4 separate regions of the Homo sapiens genome follow, and all the other regions are linked to region 1. Evidence: promoter capture Hi-C in 16 types of primary human blood cells and fetal thymus (Javierre and others, 2016). All regions are on one chromosome and are shown on one strand. The core of a region is centred on a gene start or on the middle of the fragment in contact, and the rest is flanking DNA. Distances in the headings are between cores, read along the strand shown.

What was found. The method cuts DNA at HindIII sites, captures the fragments that hold promoters and counts their contacts. A CHiCAGO score of 5 or more calls a contact.
Region 2: a contact is called between a fragment that was not itself captured here and the fragment with the promoter of EBF2 in region 1, in 1 of 17 cell types (endothelial precursors). The highest score is 5.0, in endothelial precursors.
Region 3: a fragment that was not itself captured here is called in contact with the fragment with the promoter of EBF2 in region 1 in 1 of 17 cell types (endothelial precursors); the score reaches 5.1 in endothelial precursors.
Region 4: a fragment that was not itself captured here is called in contact with the fragment with the promoter of EBF2 in region 1 in 1 of 17 cell types (endothelial precursors); the score reaches 6.3 in endothelial precursors.

The regions. Positions count from the first base shown.
Region 1 is chr8:26,042,251-26,049,596 of GRCh38, reverse strand. EBF2 (EBF transcription factor 2) reads left to right here and starts at 4,184. Exons shown (of 16, transcript NM_022659.4): 1 at 4,184-4,868; 2 at 7,346. The coding sequence starts at 4,738. RefSeq lists enhancers at 1-477, 876-1,668 and a silencer at 5,970-6,264. The HindIII fragment of the contact is 12,164 bases long and covers 2,865-7,346 here.
Region 2 is chr8:25,561,887-25,569,232 of GRCh38, reverse strand. No RefSeq gene overlaps it. Among named protein-coding and RNA genes, the nearest start is that of CDCA2, 110 kb to the right of the region's middle. The HindIII fragment of the contact is 3,749 bases long and covers 693-4,441 here.
Region 3 is chr8:25,585,616-25,592,961 of GRCh38, reverse strand. No RefSeq gene overlaps it. Among named protein-coding and RNA genes, the nearest start is that of CDCA2, 130 kb to the right of the region's middle. The HindIII fragment of the contact is 2,279 bases long and covers 1,899-4,177 here.
Region 4 is chr8:25,611,286-25,618,631 of GRCh38, reverse strand. No RefSeq gene overlaps it. Among named protein-coding and RNA genes, the nearest start is that of CDCA2, 160 kb to the right of the region's middle. RefSeq lists an enhancer at 3,551-4,052. The HindIII fragment of the contact is 491 bases long and covers 2,610-3,100 here.

The DNA of each region.
Region 1 (7,346 bases), core at 2,935-5,434:
ATACAGACAGCCTGTTCCGCAGCACACACACCTCCCGGGCCTCTATTTCCGCGTGGTCACCCGCGCTCCCCAAGCTGCTGCTGCGAGAATTTGTTCTCTTGACCTTTCCGCTTTGCTTCCTCGCTCGTTCTGCACCCGGAATAAGGAGATGGGAAAGAGGGATATTTCTGAAGGAGAATACCAGGGGGAGGAGGAGCAGAGGAGAGGAAGACGAGGAGGAAGACTTTCTGGAGTTGCCAAGTGTTAGGGTAGCGGTGAATCTGGCTCCTCCAGTCTATTTTGGGTAAACTTACTGCAGTGCCCCGACTGGCCTGGATACAACCGACATCAAGTGTCTCTAAAACGTTCCTCCACGACTCAGTATTTCTGCAGCTGTTGCCGCTGAATCTCCTTCACTATGCGAAAACAAAAGAAGCGAATCCACTTCTTACCCAAATTGTCCTATAAGGGAGCTGTTTGGTATTGACGGCGGAGTCCCCCTGAGATATTTGTCGTGCATTTATGATTAGTTTCTTTTCTCCCACCCTCTCTAGGGAATTTGCATTTATAGAACATACAAATCTAGTTTCCGGAAGAAAATGCCAAAGTTGCAATTTGGTGTGAGAGTTAATGGAGTTCGATATTTAAAAAAAGCATTTCATAAAGAATTGTGAGTTAAATATTCGGCAGGTCTCTGATATGCCAAGTAAAGCTATTTCTTTGTAGTCGGACAAAGAGTAAAAGTTCCAGCTTAAAAAATAAAAAACCCAAAATTGTAAAATTCACGTTCGAAGACAGGCCAGGGGGACAGCCACTTTTTCCATTTATAAAACCCAGACTGGCTCTCCCTGTGAATCGAATTCCCCGGCTACTGTCTGGCTCTGTGCTTCGGCGCAGGGGGTGTGTGTCTGGAAGAGGGGGTGAAGGTCGTATTTAGGGGTGTGTTCTGACATCTCTGAATTCACCCCAGTGTCCTGCCGGACAGGAACACAGCCAGGAGAGCAGTTTCTAAGTAAAATTTCCGAACCTCTGATCGGGAGGAGAGACTTGGCGCCCAGATGACTGGACCGGACGAGATTGAGCAAAGGGGCTTAAAACCAATTAAAAGGAAATCGAACATACCGCACTGGGTTGCAGACGTGAAACAGAAACATGAAAAAAACGGGGGTGAGGGTCATTTGGGAAGGGTAAATGAAGAAGGGGACAGGGTAAAAGACAGACACCCCCAGTTTTGTATAAATAGATTGTGAATAATTTTAATCATAGTGTTCATTTTGGATTTTTCTTGACCCGGGCTAGAGGCAGAACCGAGCTAGTTGGCCGGAGCCTGAGGAGCGCGTGGGCTCCGCAGTCCCGCGGGATTGGGCTTCCCGGGGCCGCAGCTGCGCTTGCCAGGCCCCCGCACAGCTCGGGGCAGGTTTTGTGTTGCACGAGATCGAAAAGGAGGTTTGTTTGGGGGTAGCTGGAGGCGACAGAGGTGGGAGCAACCCTCCAGGCGCAGCCGCCGCTGCTCATTCCCCCAACCAACGCATGTTTCGCGCGGGTGGCGGACTCCGCGAGCATTCCTACCCAAAACCTATACAGACGCAATTAACCCCAACTGGGTTGGCCGAAACGCCGCCACGCTGGGCCCAAGGCAGTCCTTGTCCCCTCACGCTCGCGCAGGCACTTCAGCCTGGCCAACAGGGAACTTCAACGCCCGCAGCGAGCCACACAGCCATCCCTGGAGCTCCCAGCAGCACTGCCGCGGGGGGCGCCCTTAGCGCAGCCGGCAAGTAGTGGGGAAGCCCCACTCTGTCAAAGTTCGGGACCACGGCTCCCCCAAATTGCCTCCCAGCGGGGCACCGAGGCCCCTGAGCGCGTCTCGGGGGGTTGGCTGGGAGGAGGGGCGCCCGCCGAGCGCGGCCCCGTCTGTTTTGGGGCGGGCAGCAGGGAGCTGGGAGAAAGGAACAATTCATTCGCTTCCTGAGGGGGCATAATTTGGGTGGCAGCTGTTACCGCCGAGAAAAGCTGGTGCCCTCGACCCTGACTTTGCCCTTTAACCCCAGCCAACCTGAGCCTGAGGGGTAAACTGTTGGGGCTTGGCCCAGGCCCACTGCTGACCAGAGGCCTCTCCGGGTGCCCTGCGCACCTTTCCGGGGCAACGTGGAGGTACAGCTGATCAAAGCCCCCTTGAAAAAAAAATCACCGGGCTCATAGGCATGTCTTGAAGGGCTCACGGCTGTTCCACACTCTCTGCCAAGGAACTCAAGGCTTTGGCCCCGCTGGGCGCAGACCCCAGACGAAGGGGGTGGGGGGGAGTTGCTTGAGGTTCGGAGAGATTTATAAAGAGAGACCGTAGAAGACTCCAGGTGATCAGTTTTTGCTGGGACCGAAATTCTCCGTAAAACCTGCATGTAACAGAGAATTGCCGAGTTGAAACAGGGCAGTGAATCTCATCCCTACAAATTTCCCTCCCTACCCCCTTCTTCCTTTGGACACTCCTGTCTTACTTGGCTTTTACTAGCCACCCGATCCATTTCCCAATCGCCCTGTATGGCTCTCCCGCCCCTTCCAGTCCAACAGGGAGGACCAAGCCAGAGCTCTGGGGTCGGGGTACCACAGTCAACACAACCCAGAGGCGGGGGGTTTACCTTCTCTACCTTCCCCCAAATCAATGACCCCAGTCCCTGGATCCCGGGGCCTGTGCAGAGACGGTCCGTGCACCCGCCCCGCAAACTCCCTAACCCCCTATCCGTTTTCAAGCGAATCTCCGCAGTTCGGACCAGCACTTCCTAGTCGCAATCCCGCGCACGCAGCGTGGTGCCGCGGTTTGTCCCTTGGGGAGGTGGAGGCGCGCACCGGTCCCTTTCTCGAGAGAGCCGAGTTTTCTTGAAGTGCAAGCTTCCTGTCAGCCTAGGCAAACCAGTTGCAAGGCGCTGTGTCCTCTAGCGGCAAACTCTAGCAGTTCATTTGCGAGCGCTCACCTACACCTAAGGGATCTGGTCTCTCAAATCTGAGACCCAAGAGGGGAGAAAGTGCCCTGAACGCAGTCCAGGCGCTCGCAAATGCCCTCCCCGTAATGAGACCGGGAGACTGGGGCGCAATCGCTCGAACTACGAACAGCTGATTGTCTCCTCCACGGCAGATGGTCTTTGAGCACAGATTTGCATTCATTGTCTTCAAATCTGTTTTCGCGCTGGTGTTCTAGATTTCAGCAGCAGCAGATCTATGCGCAGATCAGAATACAAAAGGAGAAGCAAGAAAATGACACCCAGCCAGGAGGATGTTTAATAGGCACCGCGAGCAGCCCCGCGCAGTTAAAAAACCGTCTAGGGTTTCAGCTGTTCGGTGAGGCTGCTGCCACCGCCTGCCGGCCACCAGCCCGCGGCCAGCACCGCGGCGACCGCGCGCGGTGGGCGAAGTTTCCACGACTCCCCCGTCCCTCCCCGCCCACTACCGGGGGCTTCGGGAACGGAGAGGTGGGGAGGGAACCGGAGGACCCGCGGGAATACTCCCCGGCCGCTCGCGCACTCAGCCCGCCTCGATCTGTCAGCAACCTCTCCTCCACACGGGTGCGACTGCCGCTCGCGCCCGCCCGCCCGCGGGTGTTTTCCTTAGGTCCTGGACCGTTTTCCCCAGCACTGTATTTGAGCAGCACTTGCCCCTCGCTTGTCCGCCCCACCCCATCCCCCGCCTTCTTTCATATGTTCTCCACTCTCAGCAACGTGCAAGCCGCACACAACATCTGATATCACCATGGAACTCCAGGAGACCTGGGGAGCCATTCAGGGAGCTGGGTGCTCTGGGGGACGTTTGCGCAAAACATAAGCACATGTGGCCACGCTCACAAGCATGCACACAGATCCGAACCCCGGGAACGAACGTGCCTCCCGGCAGGCTACAAAAGCCTACATCTAGAGGCAGGATCCAGGGAGGCTTCCCGCAGCCAGGCCGAACCCCTGCGTCCCCAGCCCGCAGAGACCTGCTACCCTAAGTCAGTGCAGGGTGTGGGGGCCCCCCAATCCTGCGCAAGCACACGGGGTTCGTGCTAGGACTCGACGCCCGCAGCTTTCTGTCCCCTTTCACCTCCCGGAGTCCCGGCAACGCAGAGCGTGGCGCGCGCCGCCGGAGGACGTCGGCCCGGCTTGCCAGGCGCCGGCCAATCCCGCGCGTCCATGCAAATGAGGCTCCTTATCGGGCCGCAGCTCCGCCTCCCGCAGCCAGGGCCGTAGTAACCCATTCATGGGGCCCGCGCGCGGCTGCAGCCGGGCTCCGTGGCGCTCGCAGCCACCGCCTCCTCTCGGCTCCAGGTCTTCCCCTTCTTTTTACAACTGATCCTGTTGGGGATTTTTTTTTTTTCTAAATTGGAACGGTGGGGAGGAGCAGGGAGGGGGGACCTGGAGGAAGGGGAGAGATTAGGCAGCCATCAATTTCCTCCAGTTTCTCCCAGAACAGGTGATGCTTCTAAATTGTGATCACTTTCAGGAGGCAGCACTGCAGCTGGAAGGATGCGAGCGACCTAGGGTGGAGTGGCTGAGGCGGCAGATCTGAACTTGCGGAGGATAAGAACCCAAACTTTGACTACATCAGTCCGCACCTCGCCAGTGAAGCAAAGGACGGGTTATCTTTTTTTTTTTTCTAAGACTCAAACTTGGGCACTTGATCCCTTTTCTTGGATTGCTTTGGAGGAGACGATTTGCTGGCAACGTTGGGAACAGTCAGGACTGTGTTGTAACTCTTACTTTTAAAGCGACAGTAGAGGATCAGACTTTTTAAATGTTTGGAATTCAAGATACTTTAGGAAGAGGACCAACTCTGAAAGAGAAATCGCTGGGCGCGGAGATGGATTCGGTCAGGTCCTGGGTCCGGAATGTCGGAGTGGTGGACGCTAATGTCGCCGCGCAGAGGTAACGACACGGCCGCGCAATTATTATGCTGTCTCTCGCTCTTACGGTCTGTCTCTCCGTGTGCACCCCCCCCGCGCACCCCGTGCCTTTCTCTCTCCCTGTCCCCCCATCTGTCGCCCAGGCCCTGCGCGCTGGGGCTCGCCCTCGGGCAAGCAGATCGCTGCAGTCAGGCGAACGCTCACCCGGCAGCCGGCACTCGAGTTCCTGAACTGCCTGGGTCGTAGGCGTTTCTCTCCCTCTCCTTTACCACAGTCCACTCTTTGCAAGGAAAAATAAAGTAGCCCCCAACATCTCCCAGCTCAGCCCCTAGTCCTGCAAGCCGAGCCGGCCTGGCCCCGAACGGAGCGTGAACACCGGCGCTGGCAGTGGCGGCGCGGGAGGAAAGCCGGCTTCCTGGCCACTCTTGGCTTCGCCACGCCGCCTGCGAGCGCCTACCTCCCGCATCTTGCTGGGCGATTCCTGGAGCCTGGGAGGCCGGCGGCCAGAGGGTGGCGGCGGCGAGGGGAGCGGGAAAAGCCGGAGCGGCTGCCCGGGAAGACGAGGCGGCCGGGAGCTCTGGGAGGGGGGACAGGCTGGAGGGTCCCGGCTCAAAGATAAAACAGTGAGCCAGACGAACGGAGCTAGGGAACTGGAGAAAAGAAGAGATTTAAAAGAAGAGAAAATACTGAGTCACAGTAGAAAGAGTTGCGGAAGAAGAAAGAGGCGAGAAAAGGCCACCAGCAGCTAGACTGGCTCAGGGATCGCCAGCCTCTGGTTTTGCGGATCCCTGAAGTTGACTTTGTGTTTAGGCGTCTGCGTGCTGGGATAGTAAATACCATGTCCGGGGTGCCACCCTACGAAGACATTACGGTCCCACTCTCTCATCACCACTACTGAGTTGGGATTTGTGGCCTCCAGGTCCTTGTCTGCGAGAGAGGCAGCCCTTCTACCCCCAAAGAGCCGATGAACTTCTTCCACTACCCTCGCTTCCCCTGCTGCCCTCCTGGCCACCCACATTTAAGTGCCAACATCACACGGAGAAATGATCCCTTTCCCAAACTGGCCAGGTGTCCCGGGTAGAGCGAACCGGCCTCTACCCTTGGAGCGGAGAAAGCAGAAGTTTTATCGCTCCGGGACTTGGGCCGGCGGCGGTTCCCTCCCTCCTGTGGCCCGGGGAGCGCGGATTTCCCTCCGGCAGACCGCACAGCGCGGCGGCCGCGGCTTTCCGCAGCGCTTCGGGACTGGCCCGCCTGCGAGCTAAGGGAAATAAGGCAGCACCGCAGAGCCAACTGTGCCGCGCATTTCCTTAGCTGGGCTCCTTAAAGACGCCTCCCTCGCTTTCCTTCCTTCCCGGGATCAAAAAGTTTGTTGAAGCTGGAAGGAGCAGACTTAGTGGGGGAGAGCTTAGCCAAAATGTTACCCCTTTCAAAAGAGTGAATGAAGGTGCTTGCGCACCGGGGTTCAACCTGGGAGACCCCAGCGCCGCAGGGCAGCTCCCGCAATCTGTGCGTTCACCTCAGCCCCAAGTCTTCGGTGAAATGGGATCTGATGGCCAGGTGGGCTGTGACTGCGACCGGTTGGCTGGGAAGCGTGTGCACACACTCAGCACGCTCGAGGGCGCCTTCCGGGTCCCCCAACTTGGGTTTCACAGTCACTGGGTTCGGCTGGCGCCGCCAGAAAACGCAGCATGAGTGGGGATCGCGTTGGCCCCAGGAAAGGAGGTTCTCGCCTTTTAACAGTTTGGCTTTTCCCCACCTAGCACCTCTGGGAGGGAGGGCCCCCTATGTCGGTCATCTCATTTGTGGTGGCCAGCGATCCCCGGGGCTGGTCGCGAGGATTCCGCCCTGTCTCTGTCCCAGGCACAACTTTTCGGAAGAGCGAGGCAAGCAGCCCAAGGACCCAGACCTGGACTCTGTGTTACTCTCCCGCCTGCCCCTTGGGGTTCTTACCCACTACCTTTCCCAGTCAGCATTTGGGCGTTGTGAGCAGTGGGTCCAGGACTGATAACTCGAATTAATACTAAATAAAAGGGTCGCTTCTTCCAAAGCAAAGGAGGCACTTATTCCCCTAACCCTGGGCCCCAGCTCTGCATCCTGATACACCCAGCAGTACCACCTGAGGGAGTGGATGGAGACAGCCCCACGGTATAGGACGCGGGCCACCTCCTTAGGGGACCACTCTGGGCCTCTGTCTGCAGCCGGGGTCTTTCGGTTTCGACTAAAGACGGGATGGTGAGTGGCCCAGCGGTGGGATGCCGGACCACTTGGTGGTGTCAGAGACCCCAGGTATCAACCCTGCCACCCAACCCCCGTGGCCACGGTGACTCCTTTAAGGAGTCTCCTCTTCCTTATCCGAATTGGAAAAAAGGCCCGAAGGGTTCAGAACTCTGGACCTGGGAAGTGGACCCCTTACCCCTCTGCAGTGTTGTGGGCGGTTAGTAACATCGCCTTTTTGTGCTTCCCCGTGTCTTGTGTTCCCCCGTTTTTCTCCCTGTGCAGC
Region 2 (7,346 bases), core at 1,318-3,817, 480 kb after region 1:
TCCCTCTAACCACACAAAACAGCTGTGCCCTCGGAGGAAAGGTCATCTGCTGCGGTTGTGTTTCTTTTTACTTTTAAAGAAATGTCAGACCATGTTTTATGTGGTCCTTATGACAGGGTGCTGTTTATTGTATCACCAAGCTGCCATAACTTCAGGACAAGGAAACTGCCATTATTTGGAGAGTATATATCTTTCTGACTTACAGGAAAGATGAAAATTAAGAACGGCCCTTTTTCAGAGTGGGTATAAGTATTCCTTGACAGTCTCCTACAATATTTCAAACATCTTCGTCAGACCCATAAAACCTGATGCTTGACTCCCTTAGCCCAGATGAGGCTGTGTTGGAGTGAAGACATTTATCCCAAGCGTGGTGCCAGGCTGCCCTTGGCAGATGTTTTGAACACGGACTTTAAACCAGCTTGTTTGGTGCCCCCCAAGACACCAAGGCGTTCATCAAGAAATCACATGACATGAGGAAATAATCACGAGAGCTAAGGTTGATCATCTGTTAGCTTCTGTGCTAAGCATTGCATGTGCATTATTTCCATTTATCCTCACATCTATGAGGCAGTCACTATTAGTATCTCCATAAGATATCTGCAATTAGATATCCTTATTACAGGTAAGAAAACCAACATATAAAGAAATCAAGTAAGGCCAGGCACAGTGGCCATGCCTGTAATCCTAAAGCTTTGAAGGGCCAAGGCAGGAGGATCACTTGAGGCCAGCAGTTGGAGATCAGCCTGGAGAACATAGTGAGACACCATCTCTATAAAATTAGCTTTAAAAATTAGCTGGGCATGGGGGTGCAGGCTTTTAGTCCTAGCTGCTCAGGAGGCTGAGGCGGGAGGATTGCTTGAGCCCAGGAGTTTGAGGTTGTAGAGAGCTATGATCACGTCACTGCCCTCCAGCCGGGGCAACAGAGTGAGACTCCATCTCTAAAAAATAATAATAATTAATTAAAAATAAAAGAAAATCAAGTAACTTGCTCCAAGTTCACACTGCTGGAGAGTGAGGGTGTTAGGATTCAAGCCCACAGGGCCTCATTCAAGCAACACATGTAATCAACATGTATGAATCACGTGATGTTTCCCAGGCACTGTGGTCCCACAAAATCATAAGTGTCTTCACAGTCTTTCCATGTTGCTATTACTATCTAAATTGTCTTCAAGATGGTAAGTCCCCTCCCCACTGTAACGCAACCATGTGACAGCTTGCGTTTGAAATCAGGTCTGCATGACCTCCAACTCCATACTCCAAGGCCAAAGTTCTTGATCTGGAGAGTTTTCTAGAGATGAGAAGCAAAGGGAATGTGGAACATTTTTTAAAAATCTGCTGCAGTTCTTCATCATCTTGGGTCAGGAGGCAGCAGGGTAGTGGTGGTGGGGACATGATGATCTCACTTGCAAGTTCTGTTTAAAATCCTTATCCAGTTCTGTTTCAGTGTGTTTTCATACTCCAGGGTAGGTGAAATTCTAGAAAGTCCAAGATCTTTCCAAAAACAGTTCGGATCTGGACCATGCTTATGAGGGACCCATGATTACTAAATAAAGGTAACCCATTAGCATGGGTTAATCCAGCAGTATTTTGCCCTGGTTGTGCAGCTAGCTAGTTGTGTCACAGGGCAGTCTCGACCAGGCCTCCAGCCAACTAGAGCACTCTGGCGGGATGGGGAAACCGTGAAGTTCAGATTGAGTAGGTGAGGTGGCTGTAAACTTTCTTCTGCTTGGAGAAAAGCAAGTCACAAGGGAGGCCAACAGCCGACGTGCAAATTTAGTTTTTCTCCTCCCACTTAGTCTGCCATCCGCCCACCCCGCCATTCCCCTCTCATCCTGACCCCTCTCTTCTGTCCCCTCCTCGGCCACCCTGAGAGCCAAGTGGTGGGAGATTACTGGATAGGTGGGCTGGCTTCTAGCCCTCACTCTGACACTCACTAGCTTTGTAACTTTAGACAAATTGTTTAACCTACGTCTTTCGACCTCAATTTCTTCACTTTTTTTTTTCAGCAGATTTGTATTAAATGCCAAACCAAATGCTCATATTTCATCAGTGACATGAAGAAGTTAGGCTAAATGGATGCTTGAGTCCCTTCTAGGTTTGAAATGCCATGACTCCCCCTCTTATATGACAATGTCCGTTTCCTTTTTTTCTTACCTTTCCCCTTCCTTCTCTACTTCCTTCTTCTGTGACTTGTGTTCCAGCACACCTCTAAGTCTCTCTCTGACACGGAAGCAGAGAAAGAAAGACGAAGGGGAAAGAAATTCATGATTGTGTAGAATTTCTCTTTCTCTCTCCCTTTCTTTTTTCTGCTAACCCCATGGAGCTTTCCTTTGGCTTTTTGAGAGCATTTTCAGGGGCTAGAGACTTCTCTTCAATCATTGCTTCATTCAAGCAAGCATTTGGAGCACCCACAAGTGCCAGCATTTTGTTGGGCACGATCATGACAGTGGTTACCAAAGGGATCTGGGAAATACTGGCCCATGTTGGTTTTCAAACAGCAGTTTTTTTGGGAGAATGAAGGATCCTCTACAAAGAGTGCCTAAACCAAACACGAAGACTACCTTAAAAGGGACAGTCTCAGAAGCCCAAAGCAACAAAGCATGAAGGTTGCTGGTGGTTCTGGTTAGGCCCATTTGATTATTATAAAGGAGACTCACTCACATTAGTTTAAGCAAACGATGGAGGCAGCGGTAGAAAGGCTATACTTCTTCTATACAGAAGGCAGGATATTGTAGGTCTCCAAAATCAGGAGCTTAATAAAGTTAGGTTTCACCATGACTAGGTGGTTCTGGAATAAATTAAAACAATTATTTAAAAAACAAAAAAGAACTCCATGTCAGTCATCTATAAAAACTGTATTAGCACTTTTCTGGGTTTTAGCCTAGATAAGTACCACTGATAACCAAGAAGCAGATGGGAGTTTAAAGGTATATCAAGTGCAAGAAGACTAAGGAAGTCTTATGCTTGGGGAAGAGACTGAATATTAATTGATCATAGATGAAAATAGAACTACTCAGCTCCAGTTTATTTTTTTTCTTTCTATCTTATCTCAAGGCAATTGATCTTCATATTAGGAAAGATAATACAAACATTGTAAGAGAAAAGCCAAAGTTGGTTGTTATTGCTCTCAATGAGTTCAGATCTCCATATCTACACCAATTATACCAAAGGCCAGGCTCAGTGGCTCATGCCTGTAATCCCAACACTTGGGGAGGCCAAGACAGGTGGATCACTTGAGCCCAGGAGTTCGAGACCAGCCTGGGCAACATGGTGAAACCCTGTCTCTACAAAAAAATACAAAATAATTAGTTGGGCATGGTGGGGAGTTCCTATAGTCCCAGCTACCAGGAAAGCTGAGGTGGGAGGATCACCTGAGCCTGGGAGGTCAAGGCTGCAGTGAGCCATGATGGCACCACTGTACTCCAGTCTAGGTGACAGAATAAGATCCTGTCTCAAAAATAAATAAATAAATAAATAAATAAACCAATTATACTACCAAGGTCTTGAAGAAATAATGAAAAGTGAAATGCTACAGATACTTTCTGAACAACTGTGGAGAATGAGGGAAGTCTCTGTAGGCTGGAGAGGATTAAATATGTTCCCACTTTTCAAGAAAAGGTGAAAAAAAAAGATTCTATAAACTAAAGAGCAGTGGACTAAAGGAATGGATTGTTGATATATTTTGAAAGGAAAACAGTGATCACCAAGAGTCAGAATGGGTTAACTAAGAATAAATCATGCCAGTCTAACCTCCACTCTGCTTTTGGCACATAGAATTGCAAAACATAATAAGTTACCCCTCGGCAAGGCGTTGGACACTTTCTCATTAGATCCTTCTGGACCAGATTCAGAAATTTGAGCTCAATGCTGGTACCATTAGATACATTAGCAAGCACTTGGATGGCTCTCCTCAAAGAGTTTGATTAATAAATGACTGTCAACCTGAAGGGAGGTTTTTATATCATGCCATAGAACTATCTGTCCTTGGCCTCCTCCGTGAAACATTTGCAGTGACTTACATGAGGACAATGACGATATGTTCATTAAATCAGCGGATGACAGGAAACTAGGAGGGATAGATAACAGATTTCAGGCCTCAAATCTGCTCAAACAATCTGAGATGGGCCAACATTCATAAATTTGCAATGCAAGGATCTGCCCTAGTTCACAATGACAAATACCCCTTCAGCTCCTTGAAAGACCAGATAGGGTGAAGCCAGAAAAAACTCTCCTGAGTGATTAAAAACCAGATTTCCACCATTTTCTGTGATCAGGCCACCAGAAACAATGTGCCTTCCAGTCTCTTCTTGGCCGGTCTTGTTTTGTGGTCAGCATAACATGCACAATGCCTCTTATCTCATCCCTGGGCTCTTGTTAGGACTCGCCCCCAGAATGACTCCTCCATCCCTTGTCTTGGCACCCTGCTCCCCATGAAGAAGCTTCCAAGTCTCAACCCATAGTTACAGCCTGCAGCACTTCGCTCCCCTTCTCAGTGAGGAAGCCACAAGGCCAATTCTTTTGGTTTTGTTTGGTGATGGGGTCTCACTCTGTTGTGAGTGCAGTGGTGTGATAATAGCTCATGTAGCCTCCAACTCTTGGGCTGAAGGGATTCTCACACTTCAGCCTCCTCAGACTACAGGTGTGCACAACCACACCTGGCTAATTTTAAAAAAATTTTTTTTGTAGAGACAGTGTCGCACTAAGTTGCCCAGGCTGGTTTTGCACTCCTGGGCTCAAGCAATCCTCCCGCTTTGGCTTCCCAAAGTGCTGGGACTACAGGTATGAGCCATTGTGCCTGGTGACTGAAACCTTTAGGTGACATCAGAGATCAAGCTGAGCCTGTTGGACAGAGGATATTGCAGATTCCCACGACAAACCCAAGATGGTCACTGAGGACAGAAGCCCTCTTCAGCTCCATCAATATGCAAATTTCAAGAACTGGCCTGGCACTCAGCTTGATCTCTGTGGTCAACTAAAGGTTTCAGCAGCTGGGCATGGTGGCTTATGCCTGTGATCCCAGCTACTCAGAGGCTGAAAGGATTGCTTGAGCTGAGGAGCTGGAGACTGCAGTGAGCCATGAGTGCACCACTGCACTCCAGCCTGTGCCATAGAGCAAGATCCCATCTCTTTAAAAAGTACAACACAATAAAATAATAATAAAAATAAAGGTCTCAGCCAACGGTGCTTTGTGCCTTAAGGCCTTGAGACTAAGGACCCTGTGGTATATGACAAAGTTTGTTGGGTTTGAATACCAGTAATAAAAAAGCAGTGGAACAGTAGTAGCTTGTGCAAAATCCAGTGTGATCTTAAGCTCCCCTATCAGAAATAATGAGTCCATTAACAAATTGAAATTTCCTTGGAGAAGGGTGGCTAGCATAGTTAAGAGGCTTGAAGCCAATTAAATAAAACAAAAGTTGAAAAGTTTACATTTTAACTTTGAAAAGATTATAATAGTTATCCACACATTTTAGGTCTGGCATGTGAGGATGGATTGGCACTATTCTATGAGACAAAGCAAACATCAATAGGTGAAATCTACAGGTAATCAGATTTCTTACAGCAATCTCTAAGAATTAGAACTGTCCAATACCGGCCTGGGCTACTTTAGGACATTCTGAATTCCCTGCTGTTTAGGTGCTCCAAAAGAGAGGGCTATCTGTAACGTTACAGTTGAAATGCATGAACCAGTGTGCGTTAACTAGAGAATCTTCAAGGACCCTTAGACCCTAGAGCTGTGATTTTATAATTATACATCTGATTTAACTTGGGCTATTATTTCCTAATTCTCCTCATCTACCATTCCAAGAATATATTCTGAAGAAGATACATGATGTCTCTTTTTAGGTTTGCAAAGCCAGACAGAGAAAAAACAGCAAAGACCAAGATTAATTCTTCTTTGAAGATACAGCTGGTAAATATCTGCTGGGGGCTCCAAAATTCTCCTCATCGTTTGTAACAACCCTAGTCCCCATCCTAACTCCCTTGAGTTGTCTGAAATATGACCTCAATCCTGTCCTCTTATCAGACTCTGGACAACAGGTCAGTGTCTCTCCCAGGCCTTCCTCTTCGCAGATGGGAACCACTCCAAGACACTGTGGCCAAGTGTGGTGGAGGAGCCTGCTTTACTCAGTCACTGAAACCCACACCAGTGACCCGATTGGCTCTGCTTTGTCACAGGCTAAGGGGAGCAGACAAAGGAGGGAGTGAGGACGTGGATGATATGAAGCAGGCTCATTCATTTCCCTGTGTCAGCCCATGGCCATTCAACTTCTGGGCTTTCGTATGTGGGCCTGTCTCTCTGGCCAAACAGCCTCAAGGTGACTCCCTGCTTCTCCCCTATGACTCTGGGCCATCCTTCCCAAATGACAGGATGTCTGCGTCAGTAGCATCTCTATCCAAAACCACACAGCTCTCACCTGGAAGAGGAAGCTCTGGTTCAGACAACTACCTTCAGACAGGGAAGGGATGCTTATCTTAAGTGTTACTGTTGCTTATCTTGATAGCAACAGGGGGCAGCCAAATGCCTAGGCAGTTAGGAGTGGGTACCTGGTGAAACCCCACCTCCAGGTTGAAGACAGTTTAAAGCCTGAAACCCAAGCTGCAAGTTAAATCCTCAGACAGGATTGAGAACTTGTCTTCCCGTTTGGCGTGCTTTCCTCTGATTGATCCTCACCCTTCACCTATTTTACACACACCTACCCTTTCCTAATTGGTTTTCTACACTGCCGTGCCCACCTTTGAGTGGTGTCTTCACTTTAACCTTTCTTGCATACTCACAAACCAATCAGCACACACTCCCCACCCTGTGCCTATAAAGACTCCAGACTCAGTCAGTAGAGGAGGAGATGACCTGACTTAGGACAAGAGACAACCTGACTTTGGGAAAGATGACCTGCTCTTCTCATTCCCTCTCCAGCTCCCCTCTCTGGACCCCAGACCTAGTCAGTAGAGGAGGAGACGACCTGACTTAGGAGAACAGACAACCTGACTTTGGAGAAGATAACCTGCTCTTCCCATTCCCTCTCCAGCTCCCCTCTCTGGACCCCAGACTCAGTCAGTAGCGGAGGAGATGACCTGACTTAGGAGAAGAGACAACCTGACTTTGGAGAAGATGACCTGCCCTTCCCATTCCCTCTCCAGCTCCCCTCTCCACTGAGAGTTGTTTTCATCTCACAATAAAATTATCTGCCCTCACCATCCTTCAATCTTCAGTGTGACCTCATTCTTCTTGGACACCAGACAAGAGCTCAGGACCCACCAACTGTGGGCACCCTGAAAGGCTGTCACACTGGCTCTTTGCCTTTGCCAACGGAGGGCAGCCACCCCCCATGACGAGGCAAGTGGCC
Region 3 (7,346 bases), core at 1,789-4,288, 460 kb after region 1:
AACAGAGGCAAACCGAGGTTTAGAGACTTGCCCCACATACCAGGGTCAATAAACAAGCAAGAAACACATGCTCCCTTCTGTACTCACTACTCACTTCCAATAGCCTCATTTATTGTCAAATGCATGCTTGTTTGGTTAGTTTTAATCCCCATGCTATTAACATGGGAGCCTGGAACATGTTGGCTTCTTAACAGCTCCCAGAACCACAATCATTTAGGTTGGAAAGTAAACAGAATCTTATCCGTATGAGGGTAGATGGGAGGTCAGTGGAAAGGGAGGCTGCTGCTGTGGACGGCCAACAAGGCGGGCTGGCTGCACCAGCTCTCACTGATCAGGCCGCACAACTCAGTGTGGGGCTCTGGTCTGAGATGTGCTCACTGATCTTTCCATTGTCTCCATTGTCCGGATCAGCTCCAGGTACCAGTGATAGCAGATCCAGGAACCAGGTATCAGATCCTAAGGCTGTATCTGATCATTTTTGCCATTGGACAAACTCCCCTAAGCCTCTCCTTAAATACCTATCTCCTATAATCCAAATTTTGGCTAATGCTAATGTCTAATTCAGAAAATACTGCAGCCAAAAGAAGATAAGATTTGGAGTCAGGCTGCTCTGTCCTCCTCTTGCTGCAGCTTTGCAGCCAATGGGCAAGTCACAGGACTCTCTAGGACTCCCTTCCCTGTCTGTCCTGGGGACAGATGACACCCAGCACCAGGGAGTGCTTGCTGGGATAAGGTCTAGAAAGCATATTCTGATGCCTACCATACGTCAGCACGGGATAGGGACTGAAGTTCCTTTTATCCCCATTTAGTTAAATAATTAAGAGTGCAGGCCAGACACGGTGGCTCACGCCTGTAATCCCAGCACTTTGGGAGGCTGAGGCGAGCAGATCACCTGAGGTCAGGAGTTTGAGACCAGCCTGGCCAACACGGTGAAACCTTGTCTCTACTAAAAATAGAAAAATTAGCCAGGTATGGTGGTGGGCGCCTGTAGCACCAGCTACTTGGGAGGCTGAGGCAGGAGAATCACCTGAACCCAGGAGGTGGAGGTTGCAGTGAGCCAAGATCTCGCTACTGCACTCCAGCCTCGGGGATGACAAGAGCAAAACTCGGTCTCAAAAAAAAAAAGTGCAAATTTGATGATTTCATTAGTTTTATCCAATGTCACTGTTACTTTATTCTGTACCTGTCATTAACCACTGAGAAACAGTATTCTGCAGAAAAATAAAATTACAAAAAAGGAAGGAAGGAAAGAGGGAGAGAAAAAGGAATGAAGGAAGGAAGGGAAGAAGGAAGGGAGGGAGGGAGAAAAGGAAGGAAAGAGAGAAAGAAGGAAGGAAAGGAAGAGAAGGGACTGAAGAGGAAGCAAGGGAAGGGAAGAGAGAAAGAGGGAAGAGGAGGAGAAGAAGAGGAGGAAAGCAGACAGGTAGCTGCCAACAAGTGCTGTCTCCAGCAGCACTGCATTGCTAGAAATGGGTAGGGGGTGAGAGAATCTGGACTGAAATCTTGTTTGCTAACACATGCTACCTTGGCGACCCTGGACAAGTTACTTAACCTCTCTCCAACTTTCTTACCTCTTAAATATGCTTATAATAAGAAAGCCTAGCTCATGAGATTATTTTGAGGATTCAATGTAATCATAGCCCTGAAGGTGTCTAGCATGGTATCTGGCACTTGACAAACACAAAACAAGAAAAAAAGAAAAGAAAATGCTGATTGAATTTACTTGTCAATTCTAAGACATTCACAGAAACCATCCTAGGGAGGGTAACTCAGTTTCCACACCCGAAATAATCAGAACAGCCTTCCAAGCTCAGAGTGTACAGTGTGGTGTGTCCTAGAGGGACAAGAGAACTTCACTGTATAGTTACAATATTAAGTTGTTCTTATTAAAATAAGCTTGCCTGACTGCATGGGGACAGAAAGAAATTCAATCCATCTACAGTGGGGCAAGAAGCAATCATTCTGTTCCTCAGCACACAACAATAAATAATTCAGCGAGAAGGACACACTAGTATCCTTCCAATTTTTCTTCTTCTAGTCATGAATCCTGTTTATGTTTTCTGGAACCATAAATGGAATATAATTTTACAAACTGAGGGAGAAACGAAGCATGCTAGAAATGTAGGGACATTCTGACATATGTTTCCCTATCACCAGTCCTTGGTGACATTTTCCTTGATTTGAACTCCTTTAGCATTGGGTTTACAATCTGTATGACACTGTTAGTGACTGGAGTATCAGACACCTTGGAGGGATTTCTCTTTTCACTTCAAAGTTGTTCTCTCAGCAATAATAAGAGTTAATGTTTATCGTGCACTCACTCTGTGCGAGGCATCATTTTATCATTTAATTTTCACAAAGGTCCTCTATGTTGTCCTTTAAGTAAGTAACGACTGGGGCCCAGAAAGGTTAAGTAGCTTGTCCAGTGTCACACTGTTAATAGGTGGCACAGCTAAGATTTGAACCTGACACATACTCTTCATGAGTCATGGTGCATATTACCAGGATGTAAGTTTCTTGAGGGCCAAGGGCTCATCTTCCTCCAAATTTGCTTTCCCCTACCTCCTAGAAAAACTCCTGAGAATTAGGAGAGGTTTGAACAGATGATTGGTAAACTGAATTCAATAAAGGCATTCACAGGCTTCCACTAGAAGACTTCAGCATCCATCCTTTACCCTTGAAGACCACCACATGCAACCACACTGACCATGCCCTGCACAACCCCAGGGGTACCTTTCACAGAGACTACAATACCAAGGGACTACAATACTAAGCCAGGCCATTTGCCTCTTGCCAACCCAAATCCATATCATTTCCCAAGCCCTTTTCAGTGCACGGCAGCCCAGACTTACTCCATGCCAAATAGAAACAGTCAGACTCCTGGAAATAAGTAAGCAGCCAAGTTGTATATTTCAATGTCCAGTGCCTAGAAGACGTTTAGGGAACATGTGATATAATAGAAAAGGAAAAGGGAAGTACTGTCTATTTCTCATTTTCTACAGTAGAAAATGAGTTTGGAGTGTGATAGGAAATGTTTATAGCCTATGCTTTCTCCTGTCATCAAAAATAAACTCTGTGCTGATCAAGAACACGGGATCATAGATCAACTTTTATTCAGGTCACACTTATCTAAATAGGTCATCATCCTTGGCACCAGTACAAGTGAGAGCTTTAAATGGGGATGGCAACTACACAACCTACATTGGTCTGCAGTGATCTGCCAGCACCATTGCAGCAGAGAGACGTAGGAAAAGTAGGTGCAGTTGGATGAGATCATGTTGCACCTGTGGTCAGAGCCTCCTTGGAATAACACAATTCTGTGGATCAAGATGAACCCAAGAGTGGGACCGTCAGATTGTAGGCAGTACCCACAGATTCATATGGTAGGAAAAGTATCATGTCGGTTTCCTTCTAATCATTCTGATTAAATCAATGAGAGAATCAGCCTTTGCAACCTCTCCACCATTTGCTAATCATCCTTTTTAACAAAAAGAGGGCATGACTCAACATTAGAGCCTTCAGCAAACAAGTGAATCTAGATAGAATTTAATAACACTGTTTGCATGTTTTAATCATTACCTTCCCTGTTGGCCAATGATATTGGTTTTCCATTTACAGTAATCATATAAAGTTTTAAAACAAATGTATTCAAGTTTAAGAAACCAATTAGGTGATCTAAAGAAAAAAACATAACATTGAGTACAGTCTGGATATGGCTATGGCAAAATTTGTGAAAGTGACAAATTAATGAATAAAGATTGGACATCAGCCTGGTGCAGTGGCTCATGCCTGTAATCTCAGCATTGTGGGAGGCTGAGGCGGGTGGATTGCCTGAGCTCAGGAGTTTGAGACCAGTTTGGGCAACATGGCGAAACCCCATCACTACTAAAATAAAAAAGTTAGCCAGGCGTGTTGGTACACACCTGTAATCCCAGCTACTGGGGAGGCTGAGGCACAAGAACTGCTTGAGCCTGGGAGGTAGAGGTTGCAATGAGCCGAGATCGCTCTACTGCACTCTGACCTGGGTGACAGAGCAAGACTCCATCTCCAAAAAATAATAAACAAATAAAGATTGGGCACCACAGCTAATGTGAAGATGGACAGAAGTTAATACAGGTGACCCAAGTTGCTCGAGAGAGTGGAGGAGGAGGTAGTCAGGGAAGCTAGAGAGAAAGCTTAAAGAATTAGTGAAGGAAACAAATATCCTTGTCCTCCCAAAACTAAAATGTGGATGCCTGGGGTCTGAGCTCCTGGCCAAGTGATTGCAGGAGGGAAAAACCACAGAACATGGGTGCTACCTGCAACCCCCACAGGGGGACAGTAGCCTCCAATGCCCAAAGAGATGGCAAGGAAATGGGGGCAAGACGAAATGTCTGGATAAACATAAAAACACCAAGCCTGGCTTTCAGACAAGCACTGTGTGAAGGCAATAAACACATAGAGGAAAAGCCCTGGGGCACTGTGGAGAGAGCACTGAATTGGGAGTCGAGATACCTAGTTTTAGTTCCAACTCTGCTGTCTCTGCATGGCCCAAAACAAAGACTCTTTCTTGCCTTCAATTTCCTCACCTGTAACACACCCTTTCCTGGGACTACATTCTTTGCCTCTATATTCTTTAATAAGTACATTAGCGCAATTTCCAATTTGGTATTATGCGGATACAATTTAAAGGAGACAATATATTTGCTGCAAGAATACCAACCTCCCCCTGATGCAAGTGTGCACACACACATGCACACACACACAAATTGCATTTAGAATTATAATCATTTGACTGTTAATATAATCACCAGCAAATGTTGGTCATAAATATTAAGTGCTAACGGGGTCAGATTCCCTGGTGGATGTTGAGGAATGTGCCTGGTGGGTGGTGGAGGGGAGCTACTTTTCCAGAGAAGTACGAGGGAATTAACCACCAGTCTGTACCTCCGTGGCCTTGCAAACAACACCAACACTCTCTTTCTGTCTAACTCTACAACTGGAATTTGCCCAGCCTTTTGGGAAACGTACTTCGACTTTGAATGTTGGAAATTGTCTGTGGTACAAATCACAGCTCTTCTCTCTTGAGAATTAACAAAGCAAAAAGGCAAAGAGTGGATTTTCGTCTTGGTAAACTGAGGTTCAGAGATTGTTTTTATGGGACTCACCCAGAAAAAGGTCTCCCTCTCTTTATTGCCCACTGAAGGGCTATTGCATAGCCAGAGATGTTGAAATGGCACACTGAAAAGGGAGCAACATAAACATAAAATCAAACTACTGCAAATATCTACTGAGCATCTACTATCATTTGTGCACAGAAGGATAAAACATGGTTCCTGTCTGAAGATGCCTGTGATCTAGCTAGAGTAAAGGCCAATACACATAGAACAAAGAAGGGAGAAGACAGCATACAATTGAGCACAAAAGTAGGTGATTTCCATTTAAGACAACCTTCACTTGCAAGGCTTCACCCAATCCATTCTACACCACAAGTAGAGCCACTTTCCAAGACACAAACCTAATTATGCCACTTGCATGCTTGAAACATTTCAACAGCTTCACCTCCAGATAAAGTCCACATTCCTTACAATGGTGTTAAAGGCCACTTGGGACTGGGCCTCCGCTTACCGCTAGGGTCTCGTGTCTTACCAATCTCCTTCCTCCTGGTCCTCTATGTGTCCTGGGAAGTTTATACCATGTCCTGCAGAACTGAAATGCGTCTTTTCCCAGCATGCCTCTTCCTCTCTCTCATGTCTATTCATGTACTTCCCTCTGCGTGGAATATTTGCACACAGCCTGGCAGGCTGACTACTGCCTATCCTTCAAGTCTTAGCTTAAACATCACCCATCAGGACCTCTCTCCCTGTTCCCACAACTTCCTATCCTCCTATATTATAGCATTTAATATACCATAGTATAAGTATTTATTTAACTGATTGCTGCCACCATTACACTTTAAAATCCATGAGGTTGCCGGGTGCAGTGGCTCACGCCTGTAATCCCAGCACTTTGGGAGGCCAAGGCAGGAGGATTGCTTAAGCCTAGGAGTTCAAGACCAGCCTGGGCAATATGGCGAGACCCCATCTCTACAAAAAATATACAAATTAGCCAGGTGTGCTGGTGCATACCTGTAGTCCCAGCTACTCAGGAGGCTTAAAGGGGAGGATCACTTGAGCCCAGGAGGTCAAGACTGCAGTGAGCTGTGATCATGCCACTGCACTCCAGCAGGGTGAAAGAGCAAGACCCTGTCTCTAAATAACAACAACAATAACAATAATAATAATAATAATAACAATAACATTCATGAGGTCAGGAACTGTGATTGTCTTAATTCACATGATATTCCCCCCTCCAGCACAATGCACATTGTAAGCGTCCCTTCACTATGTTTGGATGAATGAACATATGTCGTGGATAGTTAGAGAAAATGAAGATTGATAAGAACCGGAGTGTAAAAGAAAGGAAGACTGCATGAAGGAGGTGCTCTTGATTGGAACCTTTAAGGGTAAGGACGATTTCACAAAAGGGAAGACGCAGATTAAATTATGCTCAATAGCAGAGGTAAAATACTTTGACTTCCATCCAACACATGGAGGCCATTCAAACAAACGGTAAGTAAATTGGTGAATAAATTAATGAATGAATACAAAATAAATAAGTGAATGGCTTTCTTGATGAAAGGCATAACAAGTAACATGAATGAAAGGCATTTTTTCTGAAAATGTAACTAGCTCCCTTTATCCATAGTCCCAAACACGTGGTCATTGAGTATGCATGGGAGTGGGGTGGGGGAGTTACTGACAGGTCACACGAAACCAGCACATTTCCACATCTCTCGTCATTTCCAGTGTCCTCCAACCCTCCCTTCACCTGGATGTTTTGTTATTATTTTTAAGGTGTCCAGGAATCTAGAAAAACCTTTTCCCAGTTGCTTTCAGCTTTATATATGTTCAGTGAGGTTTTTTTTTCCCCACAGTTCTCATCTGAACACAAAAAGAAAGACACTCTTTCTACTGAAAATATATCCAGAACTGAGTGGACTGACAGGTATTCAAAGCCAATCTCAAAAACATTTTTCAGATGTCATCATTTCTGAGCTTGACCTTCTTTTCAAATGCTCTGGATTATCCTGGAATTTTTTATTTCATTTGCAATTCTCCTGACTAGAAGTCCTGATTAATAGGGGACACGGAGCCCTGTTTGGAAAAATTCAATACATTATGCTCTAGTCTAATATATCCTCAGCAACTCTTGCAAACCCACATTGCAGCATTCACGTTGACTCTCTCCTCAGGGGCTTGAGGGGCCAGGGAGGGGAGAAGTGAAGAGAAAGAAACCAGCTTCTTGGCTGCTTCTCAACAATAGCT
Region 4 (7,346 bases), core at 1,606-4,105, 430 kb after region 1:
ACTTTGAATAATTTCAATCTTTTAAAATTTGTTAGGATTTGTTCCATGATCTAATATGTGATCTGTTCTGGAGAATGTTTCACATGCACGTGAAAATAATGTATATTCTGTTATTGTTGGGTAGACTTTTCTGTATGTCTTTTAGGTCCAAGTGATCTATACTTTTGTTCAAGTCTTCTATTTTTAAAGGTAATTTCTGTTTGGTTATTCTATTCATTATTGAAAGAGGGGTATTGAAATCTACTTTTATTGTGTTGCTGTGTGTTTCTCCCTTTAATTCTGTCAAAGTTTGCTTCATATACTGAGGATCTCTGATGTTTCATGCATAAATATTTAGAATTATATCTTCTTGGTGAATTAATCTTTTTATCCTTACATAATGTCCTTCTTTGTCATTTATAAACAAAAATTTTTGACTTAGAGTAAATGTTTTCTGATTTTAGTATAGCCTATCCTGTTGTCTTTTGGTTACCATTTGCAACACTTTTTCCATCCTTTCATTTTCAACCTATATGTATCCTCAAATCAAAAGTGAGTTTCTGATATACAGTATATTGATGAATCCTGGGTTTTGTTTGTACTTATTTATTTATTTTTATTGAGACAGAGTCTTGCTCTGTTGCCCAGGCTGGAGTGCAGTGCTGTGATCTTGGGTCACTGCAACCTCCGCCTCCTGGGTTCAAGCAATTTTCCCACCTCAACCTCTTGAGTAGCTAGGATTACAGGCATGTGCCACCATGCCTGGCTAATTTTTTAATTTTTAGTAGAGATGGGGTTTTGCCATGTTGGCCAGGCTGGTCTCAAACTCCTGACTTCAAGTGATCCACCTACCTTCGTATCCCAAAGTGCTAGGATTACAGGCGTGAGCCACCATACCCAGCTGAATCCTGTTTTTTAAAACCAAATTTTCGAATATATCTTTGACCGGGGAATTTAATCCATTTACATTCAAAGTAATTGTCTATATGGAAGGACTTACCATTGCCATTTTGTTAATTGTTTTCCATATGTCTTACAGCTTTTTGTTCTTTTTCTCTCTTATTGCTTTCCTTTTATGTTTTGTTGATTTTTCTGTATTGGCATGCTTTGATTTCCTTCTCATTTCCTTTTGTGTATATTCTATAAATTTTTTTTATAGTTACCACTGTAATAACATATAACATCTTAGAGTTATAACACTCTATTTTAAACTAATAAATTAATTTCAATGTCATACAAAAACTCTAGTACTACATGCTCAATCTCCCACTTGTTATTGCTATCATAAATTACCTCTTCATAGGTTGTATACCGATTAACATAGATTTATAGTTTTTTAATGTTTTGTAATTTAAATTCTATACAATAATTAAAAGTGAAGGTGTGCAATAAAATTACAGTAATAAAGTTTACTATGTCTATGAATTTACCTTTATCAGAGAACTTTATATTTTTTAGTGGCTTTGTGCTACTGTCTACCATCCTTTCCCTTCACCTTGAGGAACTTCCCATTAGCATTTCTTGCCAAGCAGATCTAGTGATAATGAACTCCCTTTGTTTTTGTTCACCTGAATAAATCTTAATTTCTTTTTTAGTTTTAAAGAACAGTTTGCTGGACACGATATTCTCAGTTGACAGGTTTATTGGAGTGTATTTTTGCTTTTCCTTTTTTCTTTCAGCACCCTGAGTATAACATCCTACTTCCTCTAGCCGTCAAAGTTTCTGCTGAGAAATTCACTAGTAATCTTATCAAAGTTCTCTTTGATGTGATGGGTTGCTTTTCTTTTGCTGGTTTCAAGATTGTCTCTTTGTCTTTGATGTTTCACAGTTTGATTATATCTAGGTGTGGGTCTTTTGGGATTTATCCTTGTTGGAATCTTTGAGCTTCTTAAATTTGTATGTCCATTTTATCCTTCAATTTGGGAGACATTTGGCCATTATTTCTTCAGCTAAGAGCTCTGGCCTTTTCTTTCTCTTCTCCTTCTGGAAATTCTGTAATAAGTATATTGAGCTGCTTGATACTTCCCCATAAGTTCCTTGGGTTCTCTTCACTTTCTTCATTCTTTTTACTTTTTGTTCCTCTAACTTGAGGATTTCAAATAACCTGTCTTCAAGTTCAGTGATTTCTTCTTCTGCGTTATCAAGTCTGTTGTTGAACCTTTTTGGTGATATTCTGAGGTCACTTATTATGGTTTTTAGCACCAGAATTTCTGTTTGGTGTTCTTAAAATAGTTTCTCTTTGTTGATAGTCTCAATTTATACATGTGTCATTTACTGGATTTCATTTAGTCATCTATCTGTATTCTCTTTTAGCTCATTGAGCATATTTATGACAGTTATTTTAAATTCTTTGTCAGCAAGCCCATATGTTTTCATTTCTTTAGGGTTGGCTTCTGAAGTTTTGTTTTGGCCCTCTGATTGGACCATAAATCTTTGTTTCTTTGTGTGCCTTGTGATTTTTGTTGTGCTGATGATGCTGTTAAGACATGGACATTCAAAACAACAACCACTTTTCATAAACTTTATGGTCTGGCTTCACGCAAAAGACTTCACTGATCAGCGCAGCTAGAGTCTATTTTAGGATCTTTCAAACTCTGAGAATGTGTCTTCTCTGGGCATGTACATAAGCTTTTTAGTCCTGTGAAATTCCCATTGCAGCTTGTCCTTGCTTCTTTTCAGAAGCCTGAAATCTCTTGCTCCCTCTGGCACCTGCCTGTGGAACTGCAGCTCAAATGTGCCACTATTATTGAACCTGTTTTCAGCAGCTTGCAAACAAGGTCACAAACTCAATCAGCCCTCTGAGCCAATTGAGATGGATACCAATTCTTGAGGCAGCTCCCAGACTAGCCAGACTGCTGTACACATGGTCCTTTCCTTCGTTTTCATTCAAAGAGAGGATCCCTGGCATGGGAAGTTTCCTTCCAGTTGTGTTGCATTAGGTCAAATGGGGGCAGAGCACAGATGAGCATACAAAGTGCTATGAACTTCCTTAACCCTTTATCTGAAATCCCTTCCTGTTGTATGTAGCTCAGGGTGCTTAGACTTCTCAAGTAGTCTCCAGAGTTCTCACAAAAATATTTTGGCCCACATATTTTTACTAACTTCTTGTCTCTGTGAAGCTTCCTAGTCTGCATCTCTAAATGTGTGTTATTTTAATAGTAAGAATAAACTATTAGAGGTTCCAAGATGGCCGAATAGGGACAGCTCCAGTATGCAGCTCCCAGTGTGAGTGATGCAGAAGATGGGTGATTTCTGCATTTCCAACTGAGGTACCAGGTTCATCTCACTGGGGCTTGTCAGACAGTGGGTGCAGCCCATGGAGCAGGGTGGGGCATTGCCTCACCCAGGAAGCACAAGAGGTCAGGGAATTCCCTTTCCTAGCAAAGGGAAGCCGTGACAGACACCACCTGGAAAATCGGGGAACTCCCACCCTAATACTGCGCTTTTCCAATGGCCTTAGCAAATGGCACACTGGGAGATTATATCCCACACCTGGCTCAGAGGGGCCCATGCCCACGGAGCCTCACTCACTGCTAGCACAGCAGTCTGAGATCAAACTGCAAGGTGGCAGCGAGGCTCGGGGAGGGGTGTCCGCCATTGCTGAGGCTTGAGTAGGTAAACAAAGCAGCCCATAAGCTCGAACTGGGTGGAGCCCACTGCAGCTCAAGGAGGTCTGCCTGCATCTGTAGACTCCACCTCTGGGGGCAGGGCACAGCTAAACAAAAGGCAGCAGAAACTTCTGCAGACTTAAACGTCCCTGTCTGGCAGGTTTGAAGAGAGCAGTGGTTCTCCCAGCACGGAGTTTGAGATCTGTGAGCAGACAGACTGCCTCCTGAAGTGGATCGCTGACCCCTGAGTAGCCTAACTTGGAGACACCTCCCAGTAGGGGCCGACTGACACCTCATACAGCTGGGTGCCCCACTGAGATAAAGCTTCCAAAGAAAGGATCAGGCAGCAGCATCTGCCCTTCTGCAATATTTGCTGTTCTGCAGCCTCCGCTGGTGACACTCAGGCAAACAGGGTCTGGAGTGGACCTCCAGCAAACACCAACAGACCTGCAGCTGAGGATCCTGACTGTTAGAAGGAAAACTAACAAACAGAAAGGACATCCACACCAAAACCCCATCTGGGTGTCACCATCATCAAAGACCAAAGGAAGATAAAACCACAAATATGGGGAGAAACCAGAGTAGAAAAGCTGAAAATTCTAAAAATCAGGGCACCTCTTCTCCTCCAAAGGAATGCAGCTCCTCGCCAGCAGTGGAACAAAGCTGGATGGAGAATGACTTTGAGCAGCTGAGAGAAGAAAGCTTCAGACAATCACTAATAAGAAACTTCTCTGAGCTAAAGGAGGATGTTCAAACCCATCGCAAAGAAGCTAAAAACCTTGAAAAAAGATTAGACGGATGGCTAACTGGAATAAACAGTGTAGAGAAGTCCTTAAATGACCTTATGGAGCTGAAAACCATGGCACGAGAACTAAGTGATGCATGCACAAGCTTCAATAGCTGACTTGATCAAGTGGAAGAAAGGGTATCAGTGATTGAAGATCAAATGAATGAAATGCAGCGAGAAGAGAAGTTTAGAGAAAAAAGACTAAAAAGAAACGAACAAAGACTCCAAGAAATATGGGACTATGTGAAAAGACCAAATCTACGTCTGATTGATGTACCTGAAAGTGATGGAGAGAATGGAACCAAGTTGGCAAACACTCTTCAGGATATTATCCAGGAGAACTTCCCCATCCTAGTGAGGCAGGCCAACATTCAAATTCAGGAAACACAGAGAATGCCACAAAGATACTCCTTGAGAAGAGCAACTCCAAGACACATAATTGTCAGATTCACCAAAGTTGAAATGGAGGAAAAAATGTTAAGGGCAGCCAGAGAGAAAGGTTGGTTACCTGCAAACAGAAGCTCATCAGACTAACAGCAGATCTCTTGGCAGAAACTCTACAAGCCAGTAGAGAGTGGGGGCCAATATTCAACATTCTTAAAGGAAAGAATTTTCAACACAGAATTTCATATCCAGCCAAATTAACCTTCATAAGTGAAGGAGAAATAAAATCCTTTATAGACAAACAAATGCTGAGAGATTTTGTCACCACCAGGCCTGCCCTAAAAGAGCTCCTGAAGGAAGCACTAAACATGGAAAGGAACAACCAGTACCAGCCACTGCAAAAATATGCCAAATTGTAAAGATCATTGAGGCTAGGAAGAAACCGCATCAACTAACGAGCAAAATAACCAGCTAACATCATAATGACAGGATCAAATTCACACATAACAATATTAACCTTAAATGTAAATGGGCTAAATCCTCCGATTAAAAGACACAGACTGGCAAATTGGATAAAGAGTCAAGACCTATCAGTGTGCTGTATTCAGGAGACCCATCTCACATGCAGAGACACACATAGTTTCAAAATAAAGGGATGGAGGAAGATCTACAAAGCAAATGGAAAAGAAAAAAAAAAGCAGGGGTTGCAATCCTAGTCTCTGATAAAACAGACTTTAAACCAACAAAGAACAAAGAGACAAAGAAGGCCATTACATAATGGTAAAGGGATTGATTCAACAAGGAGAGCTAACTATCCTAAATATATATGCACCCAATACAGGAGCACCCAGATTCAAAAACCAAGTCCTTAGAGACCTACAAAGAGACTTAGATGCCCACACAATAATAATGTGTGGGTTTAACACCCCACTGTCAACATTAGACAGATCAACGAGACAGAAAGTTAACAAGGATATCCAGGAATTGAACTCAGCTCTGCACCAAGTGGACCTAATAGACATCTACAGAACTCTCCACCCCAAATCAACAGAATATACATTCTTCTCAGCACCACATCACACCTATTCCAAAATTGACCACATAGTTGGAAGTAAAGCACTCCTCAGCAAATGTAAAAGAACAGAAATCATAACAAACTGTTTCTCAGACCGCAGTGCAATCAAACTAGAACTCAGGATTAAGAAACTCACTCACAACCACTCAACTACATAGAACTGAACAACTCGCTCCTGAATGACTGCTGGGTACATAACGAAATGAAGGCAGAAATAAAGATGTTCTTTGAAACCAACAAGAACAAAGACACAACATACCAGAATCTCTGGGACACATTTAAAGCAGTGTGTAGAGGGAAATTTATAGCACTAAATGCCCACAAGAGAAAGCAGGAAAGGTCTAAAATTGACACCCTAACATCACAATGAAAAGAACTAGAGAAGCAAGAGCAAACACATTCAAAAGCTAGCAGAAGCCAAGAAATAACTAAGATCAGAGCAGAACTGAAGGAGATAGAGACACAAAAAACCCTTCAAAAAATCTATGAATCCAGGAGCTGTTTTTTTGAAAAGATCAACAAAATTGATACACTGCTAGCAAGACTAATAAAGAAGAAGAGAGAGAAGAATCAAATAGATGCAATAAAAAATGATAAAGGGGATATCACCACCGATCCCACGGAAATACAAACTACCATCAGAGAATACTATAAACACCTCTATGCAAATAAACTAGAAAATCTAGAAGAAATGGATAAATTCCTGGATGCATACACCCTCCCAAAACTAAACCAGGAATAGACCAATAACAGGTTCTGAAATTGAGGCAATAATTAATAGCCTACCAACCAAAAACTGTCCAGGACCAGGCAGATTTACAGTTGAATTCTACCACAGGTACAAAGAGGAGCTGGTACCATTCCTTCTGAAACTATTCCAATCAATAGAAAAAGAGGGAATCCTCCCTAATTTACTTTCTGAGGCCAACATCATCCTGATACCAAAGCCTGGCAGAGACACAACAAAAAAAGAGAATTTTAGACCAATATCCCTGATGAACATCGATGCAAAAATCCTCAATACTGGCAAACCGAATCCAGCAGCACATCAAAAAGCTTATCCACCACGATAAAGTTGGCTTCATCCCTGGGATGCAAGGCTGGTTCAACATATGCAAATCAATAAATGTAATCCAGCATATAAACAGAACCAAAGACAAAAACCAAATGATTATCTCAATAGATGCAGAAAAGGCCTTTGACAAAATTCAACAGCCCTTCATGCTAAAAACTCTCAAAAAACTAGGTATTGATGGGACGTATCACAAAATAATAAGAGCTATTTATGACAAACCCACAGCCGATATCATACTGAATGGGCAAAAACTGGAAGCATTCCTTTGAAAACTGGCACAAGACAGGGATGCCCTCTCTCATCACTCCTATTCAACATAGTGTTGGAAGTTCTGGCCAGGGCAATCAGGCAAGAGAAAGAAATAAAGGGTATTCAATTAGGAAAAGAAAAAGTCAAATTGTCCTTGTTTGCAGATGACATGATTATATATTTAGAAAA